7 separate regions of the Homo sapiens genome follow, and regions 2, 3, 4, 5, 6 and 7 are each linked to region 1. Evidence: promoter capture Hi-C in 16 types of primary human blood cells and fetal thymus (Javierre and others, 2016). All regions are on one chromosome and are shown on one strand. The core of a region is centred on a gene start or on the middle of the fragment in contact, and the rest is flanking DNA. Distances in the headings are between cores, read along the strand shown.

Region 1 (3,687 bases), core at 532-3,031:
AGAGACTGGGTTTCACCGTGTTAGCCAGGATGGTCTCGATCTCCTGACCTTGTGATCCGCCCGCCTCGGCCTCCCAAAGTGCTGGGATTACAGGCGTGAGCCACCGCGCCCGGCCATACGTGTCAGTCTTATGACCTTGGTTAATGTAATTTCATCTGATTGCTGAAGTTGTTCTCCATTGCTCAAGACAGATGATTTGGCTGGGCGTGGTGGCTCATGCCGGTAATTCCGGCACTTTGGGAGGCCAATGCGGGAGGCTTGCTTGAGCTCAGGAGTTCGAAACCAGCCCAGTCAACATAGCAAGACCTCGTCTCTACTGGCAAAAAAAAAAAAAAAAAAAAAAAAAAGCCAGGTTTTGTGGCAAGCACCTGTAGTCCCACCTACCTGGGAGGCTGAGACAGGTGGATTGCTTGAGCCTGGGAGGTTGAGGCTTCAGTGACCTGTGATTATGCCACTACACTCCAGCCTGGGCAGCAAAGTGAGACCCTGCCTCCAAAAAAACAAAGAAAGATGTTTCTGTGACCAGGACACTATAGACCAGATCCTAGAAGGTTGTAGAAATTCACTAAAGTAATGCTTCCTTGTCCTCTTGTGGATGATCAGTAGGCTTTCCCCTGGCAATGACCCTATATCAATAAAAAAACTTTTTCTTTTCTTCTTTTCTATTTTTTCGAGAAAGAGTCTCGCTGCAGCCTCAACCTCCTGTGCTCAAGTGATCCTTTTGCCTCCAGCCTCCCAGGTAGCTAGGACTATAAGCATGTGCCACTATGCCTAGCTAGCTTTTTTTCTTTTTAATTTTTTTGCAGAGGTAGGGTCTCACTATGTTGCCCAGATTGGTCTTGAACTCCTGGTCTCAAGCAATCCTTTTGCCTTGACCTACCAAAGTATTAGTATTACAGGCATGAGCCACCAAGCAAGTCCAGACTTTTCTACTTCAAATTAATATTAGTGGGGAGGGAGGTGTTCATAATTTACCTCTCTTTATTATTTCATTTATTCTAACATTGCTACAGTGACAATTCCATGGACATACACCAGCTACTGGCGGGGAAGATCGTTCAGACCAGAAGTGGTAAGAAATCCTTGAATTTTAAATATGTCATAGGTAGTTCACAAAGAGGACAAAAGATACCATTTACTAAACATTCGCCATCTGTTCTGACATAATATTATCATCATTGTAGTCTCCCACTTCCAGATACACTCATCTGCCTATGTTACACTTGCCTAGTAAAAGCCAGCATGGGTGAATCTTACTATTCAACGGAGCTGAACACTGTGATGGAGAGATCATATAAATAAACTGAATGGCTTATCTCACATCCATAATTAGAAACTTAAAAAGTGCTCTCAGCAGCCCATGCTACTCTGTTCCTCACACTAGTTTTACTTTCACTCTCTGTGATAACTTTTCAATACACCAAGACTTCTCAGCTTGCCCCAAATTCACTGAGACATACTGGCGAACTGCTGGTTCAACCATTTACACATCCACCCACCAGACATAAGAGTGCTCATTTCACTGAGGCTTATTATCAACTTGTAAACGTGGTCAATTCAAGACTTCTTAGAAAGGTCTCAGGTCCAAGCTTTGTCCTGAAAAGATAATTCTGATTGCAGAAACTCCCTCCGTCCAGCAGGAAGCGCCAGCACCCTCTGTCGGGGTTGGGCCGCCACGGAGGCTTCACGTGATCCGGCCGTCTCTGCGCAGGAGTGTGGTCTTGCGGAGATTTGACCTACGTACTTAGCGTCATGACGTAGTACGTAGGGGCTGGCTAGCCGCCATCTTGCTTCTTTTTCTCGCTCGCTCGCTCCCCCTCGGAAAGCTGCGAAAGTGCTTTGGCGGTTTGTCCATCCGCAGCTTCGGCTTTTCCAGTCTGGTGGCCCTTCCGGCCACCCCTTTAACCCCAGCTTTCCCTCCCCCTTCTTTCGATCAGAGATCGGCGGAGACCCTCGAAGTGCGCAAACTTGACACTCACCCTGACCGGTAAGGAAAGCGAGGGTGTGGGGGCCGCGATCAAAGAGGGCCCCATCGGGAACGGCCAGAGTGCGGCCTGGGGCGTGGGAGCGCACCCAGACCCTGGCGCCCGGAGGCTAGGGGGCCGCGTGGAGAGGGCCTTGGGTCCGGGCATTTCCCTTCTGTTTGGTTACCATCATCTCTGTGTCTGGGGAAGTCGGCCTCCAGCTTGGGGAGCGGGAAACCGGAGTCAGACCCGCCCCATGTGGTCTGCAGCGGGAGTTCTGGACCGGTCTGTCTTGCTCCCACCTAGACCCCAGTCCTGGCCCTGCGAGGGGATTACGCATGTTGCCGGGTAAGCGAAGGGGGTTTCCGTCTTCCTGGACTGGCGGACGTGAAGTCTTTTTTTTTTTTTTTTTTTTTTAGTGTCGGGTATGCGTTTCCCCAAACAACTGAAGGACTCAGCCGGGGCTTTCACTGTCTACCTCTTCCTGTGTAGTGAGGGTGGGACTTGCAATGAGCAATGTATGGGAGGGTCTGGTTTAAAGACCTGGTTAGATGAGAGGCTCTTCGGGGAATCAAGACCAACCCTACTTCCGCTAGGGAAGTGCTGCCCAACTCCGGAGGAGGATTTGGGTAGTCTTTTCACACTCTAGGCCGCTCCATCCTCTAACTTGCGTGGTGAATCTCGGTAGCTCCCTGTCTTTGAGATAGCGTTGATATTGGTGGTGTCAGGGTAAAGGCCCCGTTTTAGGACTGAAGAAAAGGGCATGGGGCCACTATAGAGACATTGATAGAGTCTTCCTTCCTTTGCATGAGAGGAGTACCTTTAATTTAAAGGGATGTATGTGTGTTTTGACATTATTTGGGATCTTTTGAGGGTCTGACATGCCTGATGTTTGCTGGCTTATAAAGCTACCTGGATTTCCGCATTGGCTGGTTTTCAGCCTGGGTTCATAGATTCATACCTCGTTAGAGTACTTAGAATTGTACAGTAGGCGGCTCTGCTGTAAGATTTTCATTTGGAATGCACCAGAAGAATCGGAGGATTTTTTGATTGTTGAGTACTTAATAGCTTACTCCTGCAAATAAAAATAATAGGGTGATACTAAGCACCTACCAAGCCTAACCCCACCATTTTTCAAAACTAGATTTCACCTCCCATATTGGTAATTAAGATGCTGCTTTGACTGGAGCCATTTTTAGGTGTGTGTCACAGATGCACTGCAGCATCTTTTCTGGCTCACCCCAAATGCATTGATCCCCTAAAAAATTAGGAATAAATTGAACTTGAATTTTGTCTTTAGCATGTAGTCAAATAGTAATTCTCTCCTTTTCTGTAAGTGGATTTTCAGAATATAGCCTTTTTAAGTGATTGTGTTTGCTCTGCTTAGCTTATGTGTGGCTGTTCTCCATTAGGTGACCTTTTGCTATACACTGAGCACAGTAATAAGTCCTTTTCATACATTTTTTTTTTAATCTCCACAACAGACCTTTGAGAAAAGTGCTATTAAGATCATCCCCATTTTACAGATGAGGAAATGAAATCTGAGAGAGTAGTCTGACCAAGGTCACATAGCAGTTATTGGTGGTATTGTGTAGGTTCAATTCCATACTGTCTGAACCCAAAGGGGATGCTCTAAACCTTCAACCTGCTTTTTAAATTATAAACTACAGTAACTAAATAAGATAAAGCATTATTAACTAGTAGTTTTTCTTTAGCTTGACTA
Region 2 (3,687 bases), core at 789-3,288, 2.0 Mb after region 1:
TTTGCTCCCTGGGGAGGATGGGTGTCTAAAGCCAAAGTCGGAGGACACAGCTGCTGGCTATAGGTTACAGGAAGGCCAACGTATCATCTGAGGGTGCAGTGGTATTTGCAGGCTTCTGGGCACAAAATGTGAAATTTAAAACCACTAGCTGCCAAGTAGGTGGCCGAAAGACTTTTTGTCCAGAGCCGCCTCCAATGGCCAAGATATGATTTGATAACAGCTTTAGGAAGAGCCAAGAACACTCTGCGTAGGTGTGCCTTCAGAGATTCCAGAACTTGCAACACTTGGAGGGAAGGACTTTCTGACGCTGTTCCGCTGGAGTGGCCTATTCTTGCTAGTGATGGCCGTTCCAGGCTCCAGGACACGTGTACTCCCCAACTTTGAGACTCTCTTGTTTTCCAGTGGCTTGCCCCTCACTGTCCCCTCCGCTTTCTACCTTGCTTCTAGCACATGAGCTTGCTGATGATAGCCAAATTGATGACCTGTGATCTGACTTGGCAGTTTTACCATTATGGATAGGAGTAGTAAATCGGTGTTGCCCTTTTTTTTTTTTAACAGCTCCTGAATCAGCAAACTGGAAGTTGCTTAGTTTTCATCAGAAGCATTCCAGGCATGTCTAGTTATATTATGGTTCTGGAGTACTAGTGGTCCCACTACACTGTGGGGCTCCAAGGCTTGACAACAGTTCTTCCCCAGATTATATCCTTTTTATATACAGTATCCAGGGAGACAGGCTTATGAAATTAATCAGTGATTGGACAGGGCTGTGCAGAGAACCAGGGACAGATTCTTACACATCATATGCCTATCCAACCCTTTATAACCTCTTAAGTCCCTTTTCCAGCCACTGAATAGGGAAAAGTTAAGCTTTGTGAAAGATAGGACTAGGCCAGAAAAAGGTTGAGAAATGGAATATTCAAACCTTGAATGCAGAAAAATACTTTAGAAATACAGCTTATGGCCATTCTTATACTTAGGATCTAGGTAGTAATATTTCTCCAGCAATCCTTGGGATTTTTAGAGTTGTGTTCCTTCCCATTTCTACCTGCAGCCCTCATCCCCCATCCCCATGAAACATAAACTATTTCCAGAACTCTTAGCTTGTATAGATTAAATATTAGCATAAAACGTATTTACTGTGCCAACAGTTATAAATGCTGTCACTTTTTAAGCTAACCATACTTTTTTGGGGTTTTGTTAATGTTTATTGGCCTCTAGATCCATCTAGATTTGATCAAAAGTGGTACTTTATCAGGGAGCCATAGTTAGGAACACGGTAGAAATATCTGCATTTATTAACTAATATACAAGTCTGCCTAGGATCAGGTATAGTATTCCCTACCTTACCGGGAAGAGAAGTTTGAGCCTTTTATATGTTTATAACACATGGATTTTTGCCTGATTTTTCCAATTTTCTATTCTGTATATGATCCCAAATCAGACTGTCAATTTTTGATCCAGGTATTTTTGAGAAGAAAAAATTAAAATGTATTTCTCTACCTTACCCCTGATCATTGTAAACAACTAAAGAGGTTGGGTGCTACATTGGGTGAGTTTACCTTATCGCTGTTTCTTTAAGTGGTAGAAGCAGCTTCTTCATAGTACATCTTCACTAAGCAAAATATGTGTTTTCCAGGGGTCTTCTGGGGCTTAGTAAGTGGGAACCATTCTCTTGAAGGAGGAAACCTTTTGTCTTTTGAAAATGGGTAAGAAAATGGGAGCATGTCACTGAATTACTCTTAAGTGCAGCAGTAGGAAGACTTGGAGGGGAAGGAAGGCCAAGGTAAGACATTCTTGGAGTTTATCCTATTTGTAGCCATGAGGTAAACTGGAGTTTCACTTCTGAGGGAGGGAAGGACGTGAACTGGCTTAAAACCAGTTCCTTTTGCATGATTCAGCAAAACAGTCTTTATGGACTCACAGTGGAAAAAGAACTCCTAACTTTTCTAATTTATCCTCCTTTTAACGATAGAGGAGGAAACGCCCTGTTCCATTTCTTCTCAACTTCTGGAGACCTTCTGTTAAGTCTCATCTAACCATTAAATAGATCGTTTTCCATAGAATCTAAGGCCTAGATTTTACTCATAGTGATATTATCTACTTCAAAAGATATACTCTATGTTCTTCCTTTTGCCCTTCATAGTAAAGTGAACATAGTGCACACCTCCACAATCTTAAAAAAAAATACTAACTTTCCTCCCAGTCTTGCCATAGGGCCCTCCATCCTTTTTGTAAGAAGATCTTTTTCCTTCTTGAAACCTTGGGAGTTGAGTGGCAGCCGTAAGTAGGAAGGAGGTGCCCTTGTCTTTGCTTGTTCTCTGTGCTCAGGGAAACTTCAGAAAGGTCAACTTGGCATCTAGGCTAGATTTAGTTATCTACTAGTTTAGGATCCTGCCTAAATCATCTGGTTTAGGATGGTTTAAGTTGATGGGGATGTGGAGAACTGAGTGTTAAATTTTCCTTTTCAGTTGAAAGAGTAGTTTCTGTTGCCAAGAAGAAGGAAATGGTACTTCAGCTTTCTTCGTGACAGCTTGAAATGTGCTCAAAATTATAAAATCTTAGACAATGATGACTTAGATATTAGTATTTACCTAAGAATTTGCTGTTGTAGAAATCTACATTGCAGGCTATCAAAATTCTACCTGCTTGGTCTGAAGAAAGAAGAAAAAGAAACTGCAAATGAAGAGATAGGTAAAACTGTGAAGGTGCTATTGTTTTGTCAGAGTATAAATATTGGGTGTCATGTTTGGCAGGTAAGATCAGTAAAGTGGTTTTACAAAAGATTTTATATCCACTTGCTTCAGAGAAGCCAAGTGTCAACTTTAATTTTTACATATAAATAGAAGATAGAAACCTATTTATTTCAGATTACATAATTTGTTTATTATTGCAGTCAGGCATTTGTTTGGATTCAGGGCATACTGGGACATCCATTATTGGAGCTGAATGTCAGGGTCTATGCTAGAAAAAAATGTAGAAAAGGATAAGAAGAAATAATTAAGTGTTTTCAGTGAACTACTTGGCTTGAATAGCACAGATTGTATTAGCCAAAAAGGAGTCAGGGTGGCACCATAATTATTAAAGGAGGCAACACCTTAACATTAGTCTTTTTAAATATGTGTCATCTTGAATTTCATGTCTTTGATTGAATTGGGCTATAAGCATAGGCTTCTCTGGAGGTAAGTAGATTGAAAAGCACTCCTCAACAGAAAAGCTTAAAAGTAAATATCATCATAAGCATTCATTTAAAAAAGAAAGCCTGTTTTTGATCCAGAAGTTGTGACTTTTCATTCTCTGTGATGTTGGTGATAACTCTTAATTCAATTGTGACCTTGTTTTTCTTCCTTTCAGATGGGGCATTCTCTTCTCCCACCCTCGGGACTTTACCCCAGTGTGCACCACAGAGCTTGGCAGAGCTGCAAAGCTGGCACCAGAATTTGCCAAGAGGAATGTTAAGTTGATTGCCCTTTCAATAGACAGTGTTGAGGACCATCTTGCCTGGAGCAAGGTTAGTATCAATTGGCATGTGCTTTGAGCCTGAGATTATAGGTCAAGTTATAAATTATGGAGTACTTGGTTTTGAGGTTAAGGTACAAGTAAGCCTTAGGTTCAAAGTTCACTAATTATTTGAAAATTTCAGTTGAACCACACAGTGATCACATTGCTAAATCCATTGGTCAGTCAATT
Region 3 (3,687 bases), core at 861-3,360, 1.8 Mb before region 1:
ACCAAACAGGGCCAATGGTAGTGACTAATCAGAAAATGATAATGCCTGGTGCACAAAATGTGTCTAGATGAGCCCATGCACAAGGACACATGTTTCTGGAACTGTTCCTTATTCCTTTCCTAAAAGAAAGGAGGGAAAGTCTCCATACTAAGACTACTAGGGCAGGGGACAAAGTGCTAGAGTCAGAAGATTCATCTGAGGACAGAAGAATAGGGGTGAAGGCTCTAGTCACTTCATTGGCTACCATGCTCTAAATAGTTACCTGTGCCCTTTTTCTAACTATTAGAACCCAAAAAGCCTATAAATTCTCTCTCTCTCTCTCTCTCTCTCTGTGTATATATATACATATACACACACACATAGACACACACACACACCTAAACACACACATAGAGATTTATGACTTTTTACTTTTATCCTTGTAAATGCCATTAACTATATTTTGTCTTAGATTTAGCCTGGGAATGTAGCCATTATTTCTACCATTGCCTCCATAGGAAAAATACTCTTCATGTTTTAAAGGACCAACCTACAACTAAAATCTTTGGAAAGCAGAATCATTTGTAAGTTGGTGAAAATGGAAGATGTTGTTTTATAAATGAAGACTTTTTTTTTTTTTTTTTTTGAGACAGGGCCTCACTCTGTTGTGGAGTGCAGTGGTGCTGTCATGGCTTACTGCAGCCTTGACCTCCTGGGTTCAAGTGATCCTCCCACCTCAGTCTCCTGGGTAGCTGGGACTACATGTGCATGCTACCATGCCTGACTAATTTTTTGTATTTTTGTAGAGATGTGGTTTCGCCATGTTGCCCAGGCTGGTCTTGAACTCGTGGGCTCAAGTAATCCTCCTGCCTCAGCCTCCAAAAGTGCTGGGATTAGAGGTGACAGCCAAGGTGCCTGGCCCACAGATGAAGACTATTTAATGTTATCTTAAAGATACCCTAAGCTTCCTACCAAGCCAGTGATCTTTTGGGGCTTCTGTTTTCTTTGTTGGCATAACTGTAACTAGCCTAACTGCCCGTTATCTGTTTCCTGTTTGCCCCACACTGATTCCCACAGCAGTTTTCAAGTTATCGGTTTGAGATCTTGTACAGAAATGACTCCAAGGTAAAAAATTTAAAAACAACCCCTCTAATTTTTTTACCCTTGCTTATAAAACAGCCTTAGCCAGCTAACCCCTCACTACATGCAAATGAGTTTGATTCTATTCTTTTGATTCTACAAACACTTATTAAAAGATTTTAGAATTCGGAAATAAATAGCTTCCTTATTAAGGTGACTTACAGCCCCAAAGTCCTTAAAATTATTTAGACAATAGCCACCTTATCCCAGGGGGCAGTGTGTAATAACCCACCCTGTTCTCTATCCGTCAGTTCTGCCATCATCGCCCAAGGTAGGAAGAAAGACAGGACAACCGGGGTCAAGATTTGAAGTCTCAATGGAAAGAATAATCAGTGGTTGGAGAAAACTGTCATTCTTCTTTTGCCTTAATGCAGTACTTGATACTTATACTTAGTACTGTATAGTACTTAGTACTGTATAATACTATAAGATAGTGAGATTCAATCAGCACAGAATTTCTAATAGCAAGGGCAGAGACATTTTAACTGCTCAGTGCTCTCAGGTTATACATAGCTAATGAAGTTCTTGCATATCAACAATCCCCACCCCCCTCACACACTTTGTCTTTCTGGATTGGTTAGAAAACTTACCTAGCGCCCACTATTCTCAAATTTAAATGAAAGATAAGATCAGAGTGGCACGCAATTAGGGACTGATAAATAATATTTTTGTAATTGCCAGTGTAAATGGACAGGGGGCAACCTTTACATACCATATTCAGTGAACAGAATACGTACTAACTAATTTGATGGAAGGAAAATTAAAATGACAATCAACTGAGCCCACAGAAAGGCAACACAGAGCAGTTGGTTAGCAATTGTTTCGAGATCATCCCTGAACTTGAAACAGGTATATCTTTTTTTTTTTTTTTTTTGAGACAGAGTCTCACTCTGTCACCAGGCTGGAGTGCAATGGTGCGGTCTCAGCTCACTGCAACCTCCGCCTCCCGGGTTCAAGTGATTCTTCTGTCTCAGCCTCCCGAGTAGCTGGGATTACAGGTGCCCGCCACCACGCCTGGCTAATTTTTGTATTTTTAGTAGAGACAGGGTTTCACCATGTTGGCCAGGCTGGTCTTGAACTGCTGAGCTCATGATCCGCCCGCCTCGGCCTCCCAAAGTGCTGGGATTACAGGCATGAGCCACCACACCTGGCCAAAACAGGTATATCTTAAAAGCTGCCCAATGTCCATGAATGTTACAGCCTTGAATGGTTCTTCCAGGTGAGTTTGGCCAAATGTGGCACCATACACCCAAGGCCTGCTGCAGGCTAGTGGGTTGCTCACACTTTAAAGCTGAGACACACTCATGCCTTAAGGTAAAGGGAGTGATAATCTGGGCAGCAGATGTTAACTTCTCAAGGCAGTCCTCCTTCTCTTTTCCTCTCCAGTGACGGATGGTTGGAAAGCATATATGGTGCATTTGGTTAGAGCTGTGGCCTTGGTGAATAGATACTTGGGAGAATACATGGGAATTTCTCCCAGGGTTAATGCAATGCCCATGTGTTGGGAACCAGGTGACTCTTGAAGAGGTCAGGTATTTGGGAGCAGTGCCTTGAAACCTTAGTGGACATTAGACCCACTTCCTAGTGGAATTGTAGCATTGAAATCCAAGGCATGTAGGCTCTTAGAGGACAGAGATAGTGTGTCATTTTTTCAGAATTAATTAAGAGCAGGCCAGGCGTGGTGGCTCACACCTGTAATCCAAGCCCTTTGGGAGGCCAAGGCAGGCAGATCACGAGGTCAGGAGATCGAGACCACTCTGGCTAACACAGTGAAACCCCGTGTCTACTAAAAATACAAAAAATTAGCTGGGCATGGTGGCACGCTCCTGTAGTCCCAGCTACTTGGGAGGCTGAGGTGGGAGAATAGCTTGAACCCAGAAGGCGGAGGTTGCAGTGAGCTGAAATTGCACCACTGCACTCTAGCCTGGTGACAGAGTGAGGCTCTGTCTCAAAAAAAAAAAAGTATTAAAGAATTACATAAGAGCAAAGAACCATTAGAATATCTCACTTAGTTGTTATCAGCCTAGCAAGCTGCCTTGAAGGTAATAGACATTTTTAAAAGTTTATCAGATGAAAAGCGAAAATCAGCCAACCTGTTTTAATGAAGGTGTGTCCTGGGCTGATTTACATGTCTCCAGGGACTGATGGCTCTAGAATGTAAAGCTTGGCATCCTGCTTGTGTTGAATCTATCACATTTAATTTCCTGTGGGTTTCTTTTTTTTTTCTTTTTCACTTTAAAGTTGTGTTCTTTTCATGTGAAGTTAAACTCACATACCTTTTTTTAATCTCCTTGCCAGCCAAATGATAAATGCCAACCCAGAGAATGCAGTAACCATGACTGCCACTGGAATGAAGAGGGGGTTATAATCACCCTCCTTAATCATTGAGAAACTTTTGTCCAATTCTGAAAGAGAAATCAGTAAGGCACATAGCATGAGACCACCAGCATTATTTCCTTAGTCTATCTCATGATATTTGACTTTTTTCCTCCTTACATCTCCCAGTAGTAGCCCATTTGATGCCATTTGACAGATGAGGAAACTGGCATGGGAAGGCCCCTGATGAGT
Region 4 (3,687 bases), core at 789-3,288, 1.6 Mb before region 1:
GGGGACTTGGAGAACCTTTGTGTCCACACTCTGTATCTAGCTAATCTGGTGGGGAGGTGGAGAACCTTTGTGTCTAGCTCAGGGATTGTAAACGCACAAATCAGCGCCCTGTCAAAACAGACCACTGGGCTCTACCAGTCAGCAGGATGTGGGTCGGGCCGGATAAGAGAATAAAAGCAGGCTGCCCAGCCAGCAGTGGCAACCCTCTCAGGTCCGCTTCCACATTGTGGAAGCTTTGTCCTTTCGCTCTTTGCAATAAATCTTGTTGCTGCTCACTCTTTGGGTCCACACTGCCTTTATGAGCTGTAACACTCACCGCGAAGGTCCACGGCTTCACTCCTGAGCCAGCGAGACCACGAACCCCACCAGAAGGAAGAAACTCCGAACATGAGAAGGAACAAACTCCAGACACGCCACCTTTAAGAACTGTAACACTCACCGCGAGGGTCCGCGGCTTCATTCTTGAAGTCAGTGAGACCAAGAACCCACCAATTCCGGACACAATACTGCTGCTGATCTGACAGGAGACAGAACTCAGATGGTAATGCTCGCGTGCCCACTGCCCACAGCCTCCTGCTGTGCCATCCTGTTCCTAGAGGCCACGAACCAGTACCAGTCTGCAGCCTAGGGGTTGGGGACACCTGACTTAACATAATGTCCTCTAGGTCCTAACATGATATTAAAGCTCTAGGGTCTACCCTATACAATCACTGAGGAAGCCCTGTCCAATCAGATTGGGAGGAGAGTGATGAAATATTTCATTTGGAAGATAACCCTCAATATATTACCAGGTGGCATTTTCATAAATAAGCAGTGAATACTGAACACCTTCTTGGAGGACTATGGGCTAGCATAAGAATCCATACCCTGCATTGGTATAATTTTTGTATCAGATGCCTCAAACTTTATTAAACTACTTCCAGGCAGGGTCATAGGAAAATCTTCTCAGTGGGTTGGTTTCTCCAATTACATTTTTTTTTTTTTTTTTTTTTTGAGACAGAGTCTCGCTATGTCACCCAGGCTGCATTGCAGTGGCACAATCTTGGCTCACTGCAACCTCCGCCTCCCAGGTTCAACCAATTCTCCTGCCTCAGCCTCCCAAGTAGCTGGGACTACAGGCGCCCGCTACCACACCCAGCTAATTGTTTTTGTATTTTTAGTAGAGATGGGGTTTCACTATGTTGGCCAGGCTGGTCTTGAACTCCTGACCTTGTGATCCACCCACCTCGGCTTCCCAAAGTGCTGGGATTACAGGTGTGAGCCACTGTGCCCAGCCTCCAATTTCTTTTATTTTCTTATAATAATCTCAAATTTTGCCAACTCTGGGAATAGCTCCAATAGGGTTTATTTATTTATTCTTAGGAAGAAAGTTGTTACCCTCGAGTTAATTCAATAAAAAATAATTAAGAAAATATTGAAGAAAAAATTTCTTTAACTAGCAATTACAAACTAATAAATACAGCAAAGATCCAGATAAACCAAAAATTGTGTTAGCAGGTTGGTTAAATGAGTGCAGTTAACTGGGAATAATTTTTTACAAGTGTTTTTTTATTTCGTTTTGTTTTGTTTTTGAGACAGAGTGTCGCTCTTGTTACCCAGGCTGGAGTGCAATGGCGTGTTCTCAGCTCACTGCAACCTTCGCCTCCCAGGTTCAAATGATTCGTCTGCCTCAACCTCTCGAATAGCTGGGATTACAGGCGCCCACCACCATGCCTGGCTAATTTTTGTGTTTTTAGTAGAGATGGGGTTTCACCATGTTGGCCAGGCTGGTCTCAAACTCCTGACCTCAGGTGATCCACCTACCTCGGCCTCCCAAAGTGCTGGACTTATAGGCATGAGCCACCTTGCCTGGCCTACAGGTGTGTTTTGAGCTACGGTTTCTGTATAAAATTATGTAGCCTCCCTCATATTTTCATTTAAGAATCATTTCAAATAATTTTCAAACCAAATCTTTCATGTTCTCTTCTGCTTATTGTTTTACTCTACAATGCCTAGAAATTTTCTTGATGCAAAGTGAGTACTTGTTTGTTTAATAAAGAAGGAGAAGAAGAAATGACTCATTACATGTTTCTGAACAAGGCACTTAACTTAGCAAGAACCTTATTTCTCACTCTCCTTTGGTACATTTAATATTAAGCATAAATTATGCACACAGATTCACAGGAAAGGCTAGCAGTTCAGAATCAAATAGGACATTTTTTGATTCAAGCCTCTGCTGCTCTAAAGAATAGCAACAAGACATACTTGCTAAGGGTAACTAGGATATTTTTCAATGAACATCAGTTGAGCAAATAAATGGCTCTTGCCCTAGTAGAGAAAGATGACTATTTTTGAATGAGTGTCTTGAAAGCACTTTCCCCAAAGTTATTGAATACCTATTACATCCCATTTACTGTCCTAGGTGATGGTCTCTGAAAGAGGGTTCTGAGTAAGGACCTTTATTGTTAAATATGAATAGTATTATATAATTTATCAATGATGATATTTTTCTACACCCAAACAGGGATCTTAAGTATGAGATTCTTTCCCTAAATATAAATGATTCCCCTTTATCAGGAATCAGTTATGATTCAGCTATCCAGAGAATTCATTCAAGCCTCAGAGGCTTAACTTTTTATTGTTGTTCTGCCTCTGATTCGCTATTTCACTTTGAGAACTATGCAAAGTTAACTGACTCAGCATTACAGCCCAAATCCACCTGCAGGCTTTTAGATGAGACAAAGCCATAATTTCACGCTGTTAAATATGTTAAGTAAACAAAATAACCAAGATGCCTAAACTAGAGAACAAAGATCTTCAGGGAAAAATATTATTCCTTTTTCTCTGAAGATGTAAATCTAAGACAAAATGCAGATGCTTTTTTTTTTGTAAATGTCCACTATCTGAAGGTTAGATCATAAACTAACAATAAAATGCAGAAAGAGAAAGGAATAAAAATTCCATTCTGTAGAGCTTGCATTTGAGGTACTGATAAAACTTTTAGGTGGAAATGTTCAATAGGTAAGTGAAAATATAGATCTGGAGCTCAGACTAGAGATTTTGGCAGATAATTAGTTTAGAATGGCAGGTTGGATGGTTATTAACATCCAAGGAAAAAGGAGAGCGTGAAGTCTGCAAGGTGTGGTGGGGAGCAAGTAGCTGGCCATTCCATCTGGTGGGTCCATCATACCTGAGGCATGGGGGATACTTCTGAAGTTCTTCTGAGTGGATAGTGCCCAGAAGCCACGTAAGAGCACTGGATTCTGATTATGAAGGGCAAAAAATAATTTCTTAAAAAGTCAACCATGGGCCAGGTACGGTGGCTCATGCCTGTAATCCCAGCACTTTGAGAGGCTGAGGAAGGCGGATCACGAGGTCGAGAGGTAGAGGCTATCCTGGCCAACATGGTGAAACCCCACCTCTACTAAAAATTCAAAAATGAGCTGGGTGTGTCGGCGCGTGCCTGTAATCCCAGCTACGTGGGATGCTGAGGCAGGAGAATCACTTCAACCCGGGAGGCAGAGGTTGCAGTGAGCCAAGATCGAACCACTGCACTCTAGCCTGGGAAACAGAGTGAGACTACATCTCAAAAAAAAAAGTCAGTATGAGAGAGGAGAACAGCTTTCTCCAATTAGAATGCAAGCTCTTTTGGGCATAGCCATCATCTCTTCCATTTCTTGTTATGCCCACACAATGTGCATTCTTAAA
Region 5 (3,687 bases), core at 859-3,358, 1.6 Mb before region 1:
AATTATTTTCCTCTTTTCTCACAGCAATTGTTTTCTCACCAATCTTTTGAATTTTTTCATTTACTTTTTTTCCTAACTTTGCCTCTCACTGTATGGAATCTAAATGGAGTTCATTAGGAATGAATTTATTGATCCAGTGACATTAGCAGCAGTAAAAGCCACTACGGTGTGTACAACCAAGTGGCAAAGACACGTGTGTTCCCAAAACACAAGGAATAGCACCACTGCTATCTTCTCACCATTTTTGATAAGAGAGGTGCGGAGGAAGAGGAAGGGCTTATTTGTCTTTTTTATCTTCTGCAAGAAATAGGAAACCAAGAAACAGCTAAAGGAAATCCGGTAGTGATGTGCTGAAATCAGAGTAGCCCTAAACCAAGTGTGTAAACACGGCATTTTAATAATAGGAATTCAGACCAAGAAGGGTAATTAGGAATTACATGAAAATGTGATTACACTAATAAAGTTATTTTAGAGAGAAAAACTAAAACAGAAATTGGTACCACAAAATTAACTCTCCAGACAAAGGTTGGGCCAGGTGTGCATTTGGTTAGGTCTCAGAGGGGAGCTCAATTCAGGGCACTCTTTCTGCTCCCCGTGATAGTAGACAGTGAAGTCACTTGTCTGCTGGGTAGATGTGTGCATTTGGAGCTTTGCTGTGTCTTCATTTTGAGTACTTTTATTGCCGCCTAAAAAATGCCTGGACCAATGAATGGCTGAACAAAATGTATTCCAAACAATGGAATATTATTTGGCCATTGGAAGGGATAAAGTTTTCATACGTGTGACAACATGGATGCTGTGAAAACATCATGTTAAGTGGAAGAATCCAGGCACAAAAAGCCACACATTGTTTGAGTGCATTTATATGAAATGTCCAGGTTAGATAAATCCACACAGAAAGAAAGCAGATACATGGTTGCTAGGGGCTGGGGGTAAGGAGGAATGGGGGCATGACTGCTAATGGGTAGGAGGTTTCCTTTTGGAGTGATGAAAGCATTCTGGGAACTGGATAATGGTGATGGTTGTGCAACCTTTAGAATATACTAAAATCCACTAAATTATATTTTTAAAGTACATTTTAAATGTAAATTTTAAAAAGGTACTTTTATGGTATCTGTATTATTTCTCAATTAAAAAAAAAGACCATGCTATGTGTATTAGTCCATTCTTGCTCAGCTATAAAAACATACCTGAGACTAGGTAATTTATAAACAAAGGAAGTTTAATTGGCTTATGGTTCCGTGGGTTGTACAGGCTTCTGCTTCTGGGGAGGCCTCAGGTGACTTAAAATGATGGCAGAAGGTGAAGGGGAAGCAAGCACATCTTACATGTCAGAAGCAGGAGGAAAAGAGTGAAAGGGGAGACCCTACAGACTTTTAAACAGCCAGATCTCATGAGAACTCTGTCACGAGACAGCACTAGGGGGATGGCGCTACATCATTACAAACCACCTCCATGATCCAGTCACCTCCCACTAGGTCCCACCTCCAACACTGAGGGTCATACTTCAACATGAGATTTGGGTGGGGACACAGAGCCAAACCATATCACTGTGTACGAGCATGTACACAGGTACACATGAAGGGAGATGAATATCACATTCATCAAGTCATTAACAGTTGAAACAAAGTGGAACTCTATCAACAGCATGTGCCTTATAACATATTCTGTGTTATTAAAAGTCAAATTTGAGAAAACTAAAAATTGAGGATACTCATAAAGACATTAGAAATGTTAAAAAATAAAAACAAGTAGCTAGACTTGGTAATTTCAGTGAGAAATGATTGATAGGCCCTGATGTGGTTTGGCTCTGTGTCCCCACCCAAATCGCCTGTCAAATTCTAATTCCCAGTGTTGGGGGAGGGACCTGGTGGGAGGTGACTGGATCATAGGGGTGGATTTCCCCTGTGTTCTCCTGGTGATACTGAGTTCTCATAAGATCTGGTTGTTTAAAAGTGTGTGTGTAGCACCTACCCCTGCTCTCTTTCTTTCCTGCTCCATCATGTGAAGAAGGTGCTTGCTTCCCCTTCGCCCTTCCACCATGACTTTAAGTTTCCTGAGGATGCCCCAGCCATGCTTGCTATACAGCCTGTGGAACTGTGAATCAATTAAACCTCTTTTCTTCATAAATTACCCTGTCTCAGGTTGTTCTTTCTAGCAATGTGGGAATGGACTAACACAGGCTCAGCGTCCCTTTCTTAACTATTTCACTCCATTTCTGGAGTTTGTATGAACCCTCCAAACTTGTGTGGTTCTCCTTTTCAAAATCACCAAATTAAAACTGATGCCTTTGCAGAGAGTAGCAGGTGGTTGCCAGAAGCTGTGGGGTGGGGGAAATTGGGAGATGCTGGACAAAGGGTATAGACTTTCAGTTTAAGATGACTAAGCTCTGGGGATCTAACATACAACACACTGATTACACTTACTAATACTGCATTGTATACTTGACATTTGGAGACAGTGGATTTTAAGTGGCTTCCCCCTTCCTCACCCCACATACACACAAATAGTAACTAATTGTGGTGATGATAATCTTTTTTTTTTTTTTTTTTTTTTTAAAGACAAAGCCTCACTCTGTCACCTGGACTGCAGTGCTGTGGTGCAATCAGGACTCGCAGCAGCCTCAACCTCCCAGATTCAAGCGATCCTCCCAACTCAGCACCCCTCACGTTCTCCCCACCCCCAACTAGCTGGGACTACAGGCATGCACCACCATGCCCAGCCAATTTTTTCTAGAATTTTAGTAGAGATGAGATCTCTCTTTGCTGCCCAGGCTGGTCTTGAACTCCTGGGCTCAAGTGATCCCCCCACCTCGGCCTCCCAAAGTGCTAGGATTACAGCTGTGAGCCACCGTGCCTGGCTATGATAATCATTTCACAATGTATCCATCTATCAAGTCATCACAGTGTACACCTTGAATACATACAATTTTTAATCTGTCCATTATATCTCAATAAAGCTGGAACACAACAATAAGATTCCTTCAGCCCAGGACTGGAAATAAAGAAGCTCTTAGAATGGTGATCATTAAAAAGTCAAGAAACAACAGGTGCTGGAGAGGATGTGGAGAAATAGGAACAGTTTTACACCGTTGGTGGGACTGCAAACTAGTTCAACCATTGTGGAAGACAGTGTGGCGATTCCTCAAGGATCTAGAACTAGAAATACCATTTGACCCAGCCATCCCATTACTGGGTATATACCCAAAGGATTATAAATCATTCTACAATAAAGACACATGCACACATATGTTTATTGAAGCACTATTCACAATAGCAAAGACTTGGAACCAACCCAAATGTCCAACAATGATAGACTGGATTAAGAAAATGTGGCACATATACACCATGGAATACTATGCAGCCATAAAAAAGGATGAGATCATGTCCTTTGTAGGGACATGGAGGAAGCTGGAAACCATCATTCTGAGCAAACTATCGCAAGGACAGAAAACCAAACACTGCATGTTCTCACTCACAGGTGGGAATTGAACAATGAGAACACTTGGACACAGGAAGGGGAACATTACACACCGGGGCCTGTTGTGGGGTGAGAGGAGGTGGGAGGGATAGCATTAGAGATATACCTAATGTAAATGACGAGTTGATGGGTGCAGCACACCAACATGGCACATGTATACATATGTAATGAACTTGCATGTTGTGCACATGTACCCTAGAACTTAAA
Region 6 (3,687 bases), core at 504-3,003, 1.6 Mb before region 1:
ACTAATGAAAACAAAATTAGGGAGAGTGAGCATGTGCACGTAAAATTGAGCGAGCATAGCCCTGGGAATTTTATCAATTTTGGCGGGTGTTCTTCCTAATGCAGTTTATAACAACATGAGGGAAGTTAAAGCTATAGGATGTTTGCATCATTTTCCTATTAATGTCACTTATGTGTATTTATACTTTGTACACATGATAAATAATAAAACAAGCTATTTAGTATTGAGATTGCTGAATAGGAAGCAAAGAGACAGCCTATGTCATTGACTAAGTCACTTAACCTCTCCTGGCCAGTTTTTTTGACTGCAAAAATTAGAGTTGGACAGGGTTGCTTCTAAGGCCTTTTCCAGCTTTAATATTTTATGGTTAAAATAGAAACTAAGACAAATAAATGTATGTTTTCAGAAAGATCAAAGGCATAAACATACCTCAGATTTACATCTCCTAAGGGGCATCATATACTTCCTTACACATAGCAGGTAGTCAGGAAAATATCTGTTGATTACATTTAAATTTTTTATGTGATTGGTTTCTTAAATAAGTAGATGGAATGAGTTATTTCAAAGGCCTTTTCCAAATGTTATCTTCTGCTTAAAATGTAATTTAAGCCACATAAATAGTGTAGTTAGATCAATGAGATTTTAAATTCAAGAACAGAAGTCTTATCTTTGATCTATGTATTCCCTTTGAAGCTTCATATTTTCTCCCATAGCAGGTGATCATGGAACTATCTCTGATTATAGTTATTATTATGGTTATTTCTTTGCTCAGCTTTTCAAGTAGAATTGAACATTTTTTTAATATGAAAACACTGAACTATTTTCAAAACCCATTATGAATTATATAATGTCTCTCCATTTCTTGCTATCTAAATGTACGTTATAAGAACAAGTGAACAATTGGGAACTGGGTACCCAAGTGAGTGAAATATTCTGTTCCTTAGTTTTCCTTAATGCGACTTTTAATTAGCTTTCCCATGCTTTAGATACTAAATTTATGAAGAATAAAAGTTAAAAGCCAAATGCTAATCTTGTATCACTGCTTGTCTTGTATACTACTTGTCCTAGGATTTCTATATTACAACTAGGAAGATATGAATTAAAACCACCAAAGAGACTATAACCATAAATAACTTATGACATATGTTCCATTATTAATTGAAAACTCATAGTTAATAAACTTTGGGAAGGAAACTTTCAGGCACATGGCATGGAATATGAAGGTGATGTTCTTTTTATAAATTTTAAAGGTAGCATATATTATACAAATTACTCAAGAGTTTACAAGCAGAAAAAAAGGAGAAAAAATAAAATTCACGCGCACCCTATATTAACATGTAATTCGTAGTGAAATGTGTGAAATATAAACACATGACTTTCACTTATTCATTTTCACTTTACGCTTTTTAATTGAAATTAAATTAGTCACTTAACATACATAATGCAGTGTTTGTTTTCCAGTCTAGTAGCTTTTCAGCATTCAGTTTTGTGGCTCATGGGAAATGTTACTTAGCATCAAGATGTGGTTTGATGAGTGAACAATGTCAGTATCAACTGTACTTAACAGAAGACAGAGGGGCTGGGGTTAATCTGCAGCTAACAACATATAAAAATAAAAACAAACACAGACCCACAATAACATCAACATGCATTATTAGGCAAAGATCCAAAATTAACCCAACCCACACAGATTTCTTCTAAGCTGAGATTACACATGGAAACAGATACTTTATCAAGATCCATAGCCATAGTAGTAAGGTTCATCAGGGCGGAATCCATATGCTGTGGCAGGGCGTCCAAGAATGCCAACTGGTTGGCCAAAGCCATCCATTCCAAGGCTAAAAAAGAAAAAAAAGAATGATAAGCTATGTTTTTCATCACACATCCACAATGCAGATTAAGAGGCCTACATTTTTATACCACCAAGATTCTCTTCCTAGCAGGGATAGTGATTTAGGTGGATATCATTAACTTTTTTTTTTAAGGTTAATAGAGCCATTAAAAGTGTATATAATAAAATACTTCTAACAATGTGTGTTAAAAGTATGGGAAACCTCTGTCAGTAGGTACTATTTGAAACAAAGTGGAAGAATCAAATCAGAAAAGTTTTATTTAATAAATTACTTATATATGGCTCTTAAGCAAAAATATGAAAAGATTTTACATGCTAGCAATGATCAGTAATATATTGCTAGGGAATGATAAAAATAAAACTGTAGTAAAGTGAGTTTTGCTGTTTATAATGTCTTTTCATATGAAGATACAGGACTAATTCCACTTTTAGTAAAAACATGTGTTTGAGTTATATCAGTGAACTCTCATGCAGGGCCAAATCATACCATAAGCCTATGATTAAAAGAACAAGATAAGGAATTTGACAAAATTTGAAAATTAGTCAGATTTGATCTGCAAATCCTTCCTCTGATTCCTCAATGCAAACAATTACAAAACATATCTATTTCTTTTGAGTGACAGCAAGACAATTACAAATTTTGGTTCAACTTATTCTATGGGAATAACAGAAACCCAAAGATAACCTTCAGAGTTGTAAAGATAGCTTGAAGTATGTTAAACTTCATGATTATTATTTTAAAAAAATTACTTGTTGGTCTATTAATACATTATTTAGAGGAAAATCTGTTCTCCAAAGTCCTTTTTAAAGGTCAGGGAATTATCCAACACTTAGGAAAATGATAAAGTATTTATTTTGCCAGGCAGAACATGGTGGCCTTAACATGCTCATGCATAGCTCATGCAGTGAATGCTAGTGAGCTTGACTTCCAATCAATGGACACCATTTGTAATGCAGAAATGTAAGCTTTGGAAAAATAAAACATATTTAAATGATTTAAGATTTAAGTTTGCACTACATGAGATGGAAAGATAATTTTCCCTCAATAGCAAAAACTGAATGTGATGAAAAAATATATTCACATAGGCACTAACTCCCTGTCACACTCAGAGTGAGATTAAGTTGACACACTTTAGAAGTAACTATTAAAATGTTAAGGTTTTAAATAAATGTGTGAATGCGTGTGTGTGTTTGTGTGCACGCGTGCTTGTGTGTATTAAGATGGAACTAAAGAGTAAATGTAAAGAGCCAAAATACATATAACACATACTGGTCCAGTGACTCTGCCCTTTAGGAGAATGGAAGTTCTGAAATACAAGTTTCAGGTTAGCATTTGTACTGAGCGATTCTGGACAAAATTTGTTGTTTTGGGGTCCTTCTATATAAAAACTCTGTCTATAGTTTCTCAAAGTTGGTTGAAATTTTTAAGTCTACATTTTATTTTGAAATGGTAAAAATATAGGCACTTTTTCTAACTTTGATCTCATGGGAAGAGAGACTAAATTTTGTGATGAGGAAATCAAGAGGTAGCTTAAAAGATGCTTCAGAAATTAGTGGAATCAGTGAACTAAGAGACACTGGTATCAGCTTAAAATTAGAGAAGTTATTGAAAACTGTTCTCTGCAAGCACTAAGGCTAACAAGTAATCATGTATCTAAAGAACTCTCAATTATATAACTGTTGATTACATAGCTTGGATTTCAACTTGTTCCTTCTTCATCTTTTGCTTATTACCTGTCTTCAACCAGTCCTTATCTTTTTTAGCAACTCCTCTGAGGCCAAATAGCAGTAGACTTAGGTTAAACTCAAGTTAATCTTATGCTTGTTTCTCAATC
Region 7 (3,687 bases), core at 718-3,217, 1.4 Mb before region 1:
TCTTTTTTTCCTTTGGATACCATAATATTCAAAATACCCAGTTTTCAACAAAACAAAATATGAAACATGCAAAGAAACAAGAAACTCATTCTCATTCTCACAATAAAAAAAATTAACAGAAACTGTCCATGCTACAGCACAAACACTGGACTTATCAAAGACTTTAAATCAACTGTCTTAAATATGTCCAAAGAGCAAAAAGAAACCAGTGCAAATAACTAAGAAAAAGGAGAAACACAATGTCTCAACACATAAATAGTTTAAAAATATATTATCATAAGGATCCAAACAAAAACACTAGATCTGAAAAGTACAATAACTGAAATAAAAAAATCACTACAGGGTTTTTAACAGCAGATCTGAGCAGAGAGAGAAAAGAATCAGCAAACTTGAAGATATGTCAAATGAAACTGTCCATTTTGAGGCACAGAAAGAAAACAGAATGAAGAAAAATAAACAGAACCTAAGAGACTTATGGAACACCATCTAGTATACCAACATATGCATAATGAGGGTATGAAAGGAGAGGAAGAAAGAAACATAGAGAATACTGGGAGAAAAAACAGTCAAAAACTTCCCAAATTAGACCAAAGACAAACTTACACATCCAAGAAGCTCAATGAAATTCAAAGATAAACTCAAACAGATCCACAATAAGACACTCTATACTGACGCTCTATTTAAAAAAATAAATAAAAGATTTTGAATTAATAACCTAATTTTACACCTTAAGGGGCTAGAAAAAGAAGAGCAAACAAAACCCCAAGCTAGCAGAAGGAAATAATAAAAAGCAGCAACAGAGACTAGAAAAAGAATAGAGAAAATGAAACCAAAGGTTAGTTCTTTGAAAAGATCAACAAACATTTTTGGAAAACTTTTAGTTAGACTGACTAAAAAAGAAAAGAAGAGACTCAAATTACTAAAATCAGAAATGAAAGTGGGACATTACTGCTGCTCTTTTGATGATTAAAAAATTACAAGAGAATAATATGAACACCAACAAATTGGATAACCTACATGAAAAAGAATAATTCCTAGAAACACACAAACTACCAAAACTGACTCAAAAGACACAGAAAATCTGAACAGAATTAGAAGTAAGGTGATTGAATCAGTAATCATAAACCTTTCAACAAGTCCAGTACCAGATGGCTTCACTGGTGAATTCTACCAAGCATTTAAAGACAAATTAACATAAATACCCCTCAAACTCTTCCAAAAGATATAACAGTAGAGGAAACACTTCCTAATTCATTCCATGAGGCCACCATTACCCTGATACCAAAGCAAGACAAAGACACTACAGGAAAACCTTTAGACCAATACCCTTTATGAATGTCGATGTGAAAATCCTCAAAATACTAGCAAACAGAATACAGGAGTATATTAAAAGGACCACGCAACATGGCCACATGGGCATTTCAATACAATACACCACATTAATGGAATGAAGAAAAAAAGTACATGATTATCTCAATCGATGCAGAAAAAAGCATCTGACAAAACCCAACATCTTTTCATGATAAAAGTACTTGATAAATTAGGAATAGAAGAAAAGTCCCTTAACATAATAAAGGGCATATATGAAAAATCTACAGCCAATATCATACTCAATGGTGAAAGAATGAAAGCTTTCCCCCTAAGATCAGGAACAAGACAAGAATGTTTATCCACTTTCCTGACTTCTATTCAACATAGTACTGGAAATTCTAGCCAGAGCAATGAGGCATGGGAAAAAAAAATAAAAAGGCATCCAGATTGAAAAAGAAGAAGTAAAATTATTTCTATCTGCAGAAGACATAATCTTATATATAGAAAATTCTAAAAATGGCACAAAAAACTGGCTAGAGCTAATAAATTCAGCAAAGTTGGAGAATAGATCAGAACACACCAAAAAAATCCACTGTTTTTCTACATATTGGAGCTGAAAAATATGAAAAGGAAATTTAGAAAACTTCATTTCCAATAGCATCAAAAAGAATAAAATACTCAGGAGTAAACGTAACCAAGGAACAACTGTATACTGAAAACAAAAAGTTGCTGAAAGAAATTAATATGAACTAAATGAAAAGAAATCACATGTTCATGGACTGAAGGACTTAATATTGTTAAGATGGCAATATTCCCCAAAGTGATCTATAGATTCATTATATTCCCAAAGTTTCAATAGCTTTTTTTGCAGAAATGAAAAAGCCAACCCTAAAATTCAAATGGAAATATAAGGAACCCTAAATAGCTGAAACAACCTTGAAAAAGAACAACAAAGTTGGAGGACTCACACTTCTGGATTTCAAAACTCACTACAAAGCTTCAGTAATCAAAACAGTGAGGTACTAGCACACGGACAGATAGATCAATGAAATATAATTGAGAGTGCAGGAATAAACCCCAACATTTTTGGTCATTTAATTTTCAAAAAAATTGCCCAAACCATTCATGGAGGAAAAGAACAGTCAATTGTTCTTTTCTGACATTTGTTCTGACAAATGATGTCAGAACAACTAGATAGTCACATATAAAAGAATGAAGATGGACCCTTGCCATATACCATAGACAATAACTAACTCGAGATGGATCAAGGATATTAAATGTAAAAGCTAAAACTGTAAAACTCTTAGAAGAAAACAGAGGGACAAACCTTCATGACCTTGGATTTAGCAGTGGTTTCTTAAATAACGATGCCAAAAGCATGAGCAACAAAAGAATAAATTAGACTTCACCAAAATTAAAAATGTTTGCATATGAAAGTTTTACATACCAAGATAGTGCAAAGAAAACCCACAGAATGGGACAAAGTATCTGTAAATCATGTATCTGACAAGGTTCTATTACAAAGAACTCCTTTTCCCAAAGAATAAAGACAAATGGCCAAGAAGCACATGAAAAGCTCAATGTCATTAGTAATTAGGGAAAGGCAAATCAATACCAAAATAAGATACCATTTGATATCCACTAGTATAGTAATAATTACAGAACAGAAAATAACAGGTGTTAGTGAGGATACGGAAAACTGAATTCTTATACATTGCTGGTGGGAATGTAAAATGGTGCAGTCACTAGGGAAAACACTTTAGTGGTTCCTCAATGAATTAAACATAGAATTACCATATGGTCTGGCAATTCCAGGCCTAGGTATACACCAAAAGATACAAAACAAGTGTTCAAACAAAAACTTGTACAGTAATGTTCACAGCAGCTTTATTCCCAATAGCCAATAGGTAGAAACAACCCAAATGTCCACCACCAGATGAGCAATAAACAAACAAAATGTGGTATATCCATAAAATGGAATACTGAATTAGTCAATTTTATGTTGCTATAACACAATACCTGAGACTAGGTAATTTATAAGGAAAAGGGGTTTATTTAGCTTACAGTTCCGCAGGCTGGGAAGTTCAAGGGCATGACTCTGGCTTCCAGTGAGGGCTTTTGTGCTTCATTATAACACAGTGGACAAGATCAAAGGGGAAGTGAGAAAAGAGAATACCCAAGGGTCTTCCTGGCTTTATAACAACCAACTCTAGAGGGAACTAATCCATTCCCAAGAGAGCTAATCCAGTCTCACTAGAGCAAGAATTCACTCACTCCAGCAAGAACAGCACCAAGCCATTCATGAGGGATCCACCCCCAAAACTGAAACACCTCCCAGGCTCCAGCTCCCAACACTGCCACAATGGGGGACCAAGT

Evidence for each region. The method cuts DNA at HindIII sites, captures the fragments that hold promoters and counts their contacts. A CHiCAGO score of 5 or more calls a contact.
Region 2: a fragment that was not itself captured here is called in contact with the fragment with the promoter of PRRC2C in region 1 in 1 of 17 cell types (fetal thymus); the score reaches 6.8 in fetal thymus.
Region 3: a fragment that was not itself captured here is called in contact with the fragment with the promoter of PRRC2C in region 1 in 1 of 17 cell types (total B cells); the score reaches 5.7 in total B cells.
Region 4: a fragment that was not itself captured here is called in contact with the fragment with the promoter of PRRC2C in region 1 in 1 of 17 cell types (neutrophils); the score reaches 5.1 in neutrophils.
Region 5: a fragment that was not itself captured here is called in contact with the fragment with the promoter of PRRC2C in region 1 in 2 of 17 cell types (total B cells and monocytes); the score reaches 7.2 in total B cells.
Region 6: a fragment that was not itself captured here is called in contact with the fragment with the promoter of PRRC2C in region 1 in 1 of 17 cell types (total B cells); the score reaches 8.1 in total B cells.
Region 7: a contact is called between a fragment that was not itself captured here and the fragment with the promoter of PRRC2C in region 1, in 4 of 17 cell types (total B cells, non-activated CD4 T cells, total CD4 T cells and 1 more). The highest score is 6.4, in total B cells.

What each region holds. Positions count from the first base shown.
Region 1 is chr1:171,483,749-171,487,435 of GRCh38, forward strand. PRRC2C (proline rich coiled-coil 2C) reads left to right here and starts at 1,782. Exons shown (of 35, transcript NM_001387844.1): 1 at 1,782-1,987. RefSeq lists enhancers at 1,371-1,680, 1,587-2,335. The HindIII fragment of the contact is 3,004 bases long and covers 1,588-3,687 here.
Region 2 is chr1:173,477,975-173,481,661 of GRCh38, forward strand. It overlaps PRDX6 (peroxiredoxin 6), which reads left to right. Exons shown (of 5, transcript NM_004905.3): 2 at 3,352-3,508. Among named protein-coding and RNA genes, the nearest start is that of PRDX6, 2.5 kb to the left of the region's middle. The HindIII fragment of the contact is 2,347 bases long and covers 866-3,212 here.
Region 3 is chr1:169,698,165-169,701,851 of GRCh38, forward strand. SELL (selectin L) reads right to left here. Exons shown (of 9, transcript NM_000655.5): 7 at 3,396-3,524. Among named protein-coding and RNA genes, the nearest start is that of SELL, 12 kb to the right of the region's middle. The HindIII fragment of the contact is 2,339 bases long and covers 942-3,280 here.
Region 4 is chr1:169,882,744-169,886,430 of GRCh38, forward strand. All of the region lies in intron 2 of SCYL3 (SCY1 like pseudokinase 3), which reads right to left. Among named protein-coding and RNA genes, the nearest start is that of SCYL3, 9.3 kb to the right of the region's middle. The HindIII fragment of the contact is 3,614 bases long and covers 232-3,687 here.
Region 5 is chr1:169,902,656-169,906,342 of GRCh38, forward strand. No RefSeq gene overlaps it. Among named protein-coding and RNA genes, the nearest start is that of SCYL3, 11 kb to the left of the region's middle. The HindIII fragment of the contact is 5,363 bases long and covers 1-3,687 here.
Region 6 is chr1:169,919,944-169,923,630 of GRCh38, forward strand. KIFAP3 (kinesin associated protein 3) reads right to left here. Exons shown (of 20, transcript NM_014970.4): 20 at 1,386-1,838. The coding sequence ends at 1,733. Among named protein-coding and RNA genes, the nearest start is that of SCYL3, 28 kb to the left of the region's middle. The HindIII fragment of the contact is 2,125 bases long and covers 692-2,816 here.
Region 7 is chr1:170,068,102-170,071,788 of GRCh38, forward strand. The region is part of intron 1 of KIFAP3 (kinesin associated protein 3); the gene reads right to left. Among named protein-coding and RNA genes, the nearest start is that of KIFAP3, 4.8 kb to the right of the region's middle. The HindIII fragment of the contact is 677 bases long and covers 1,630-2,306 here.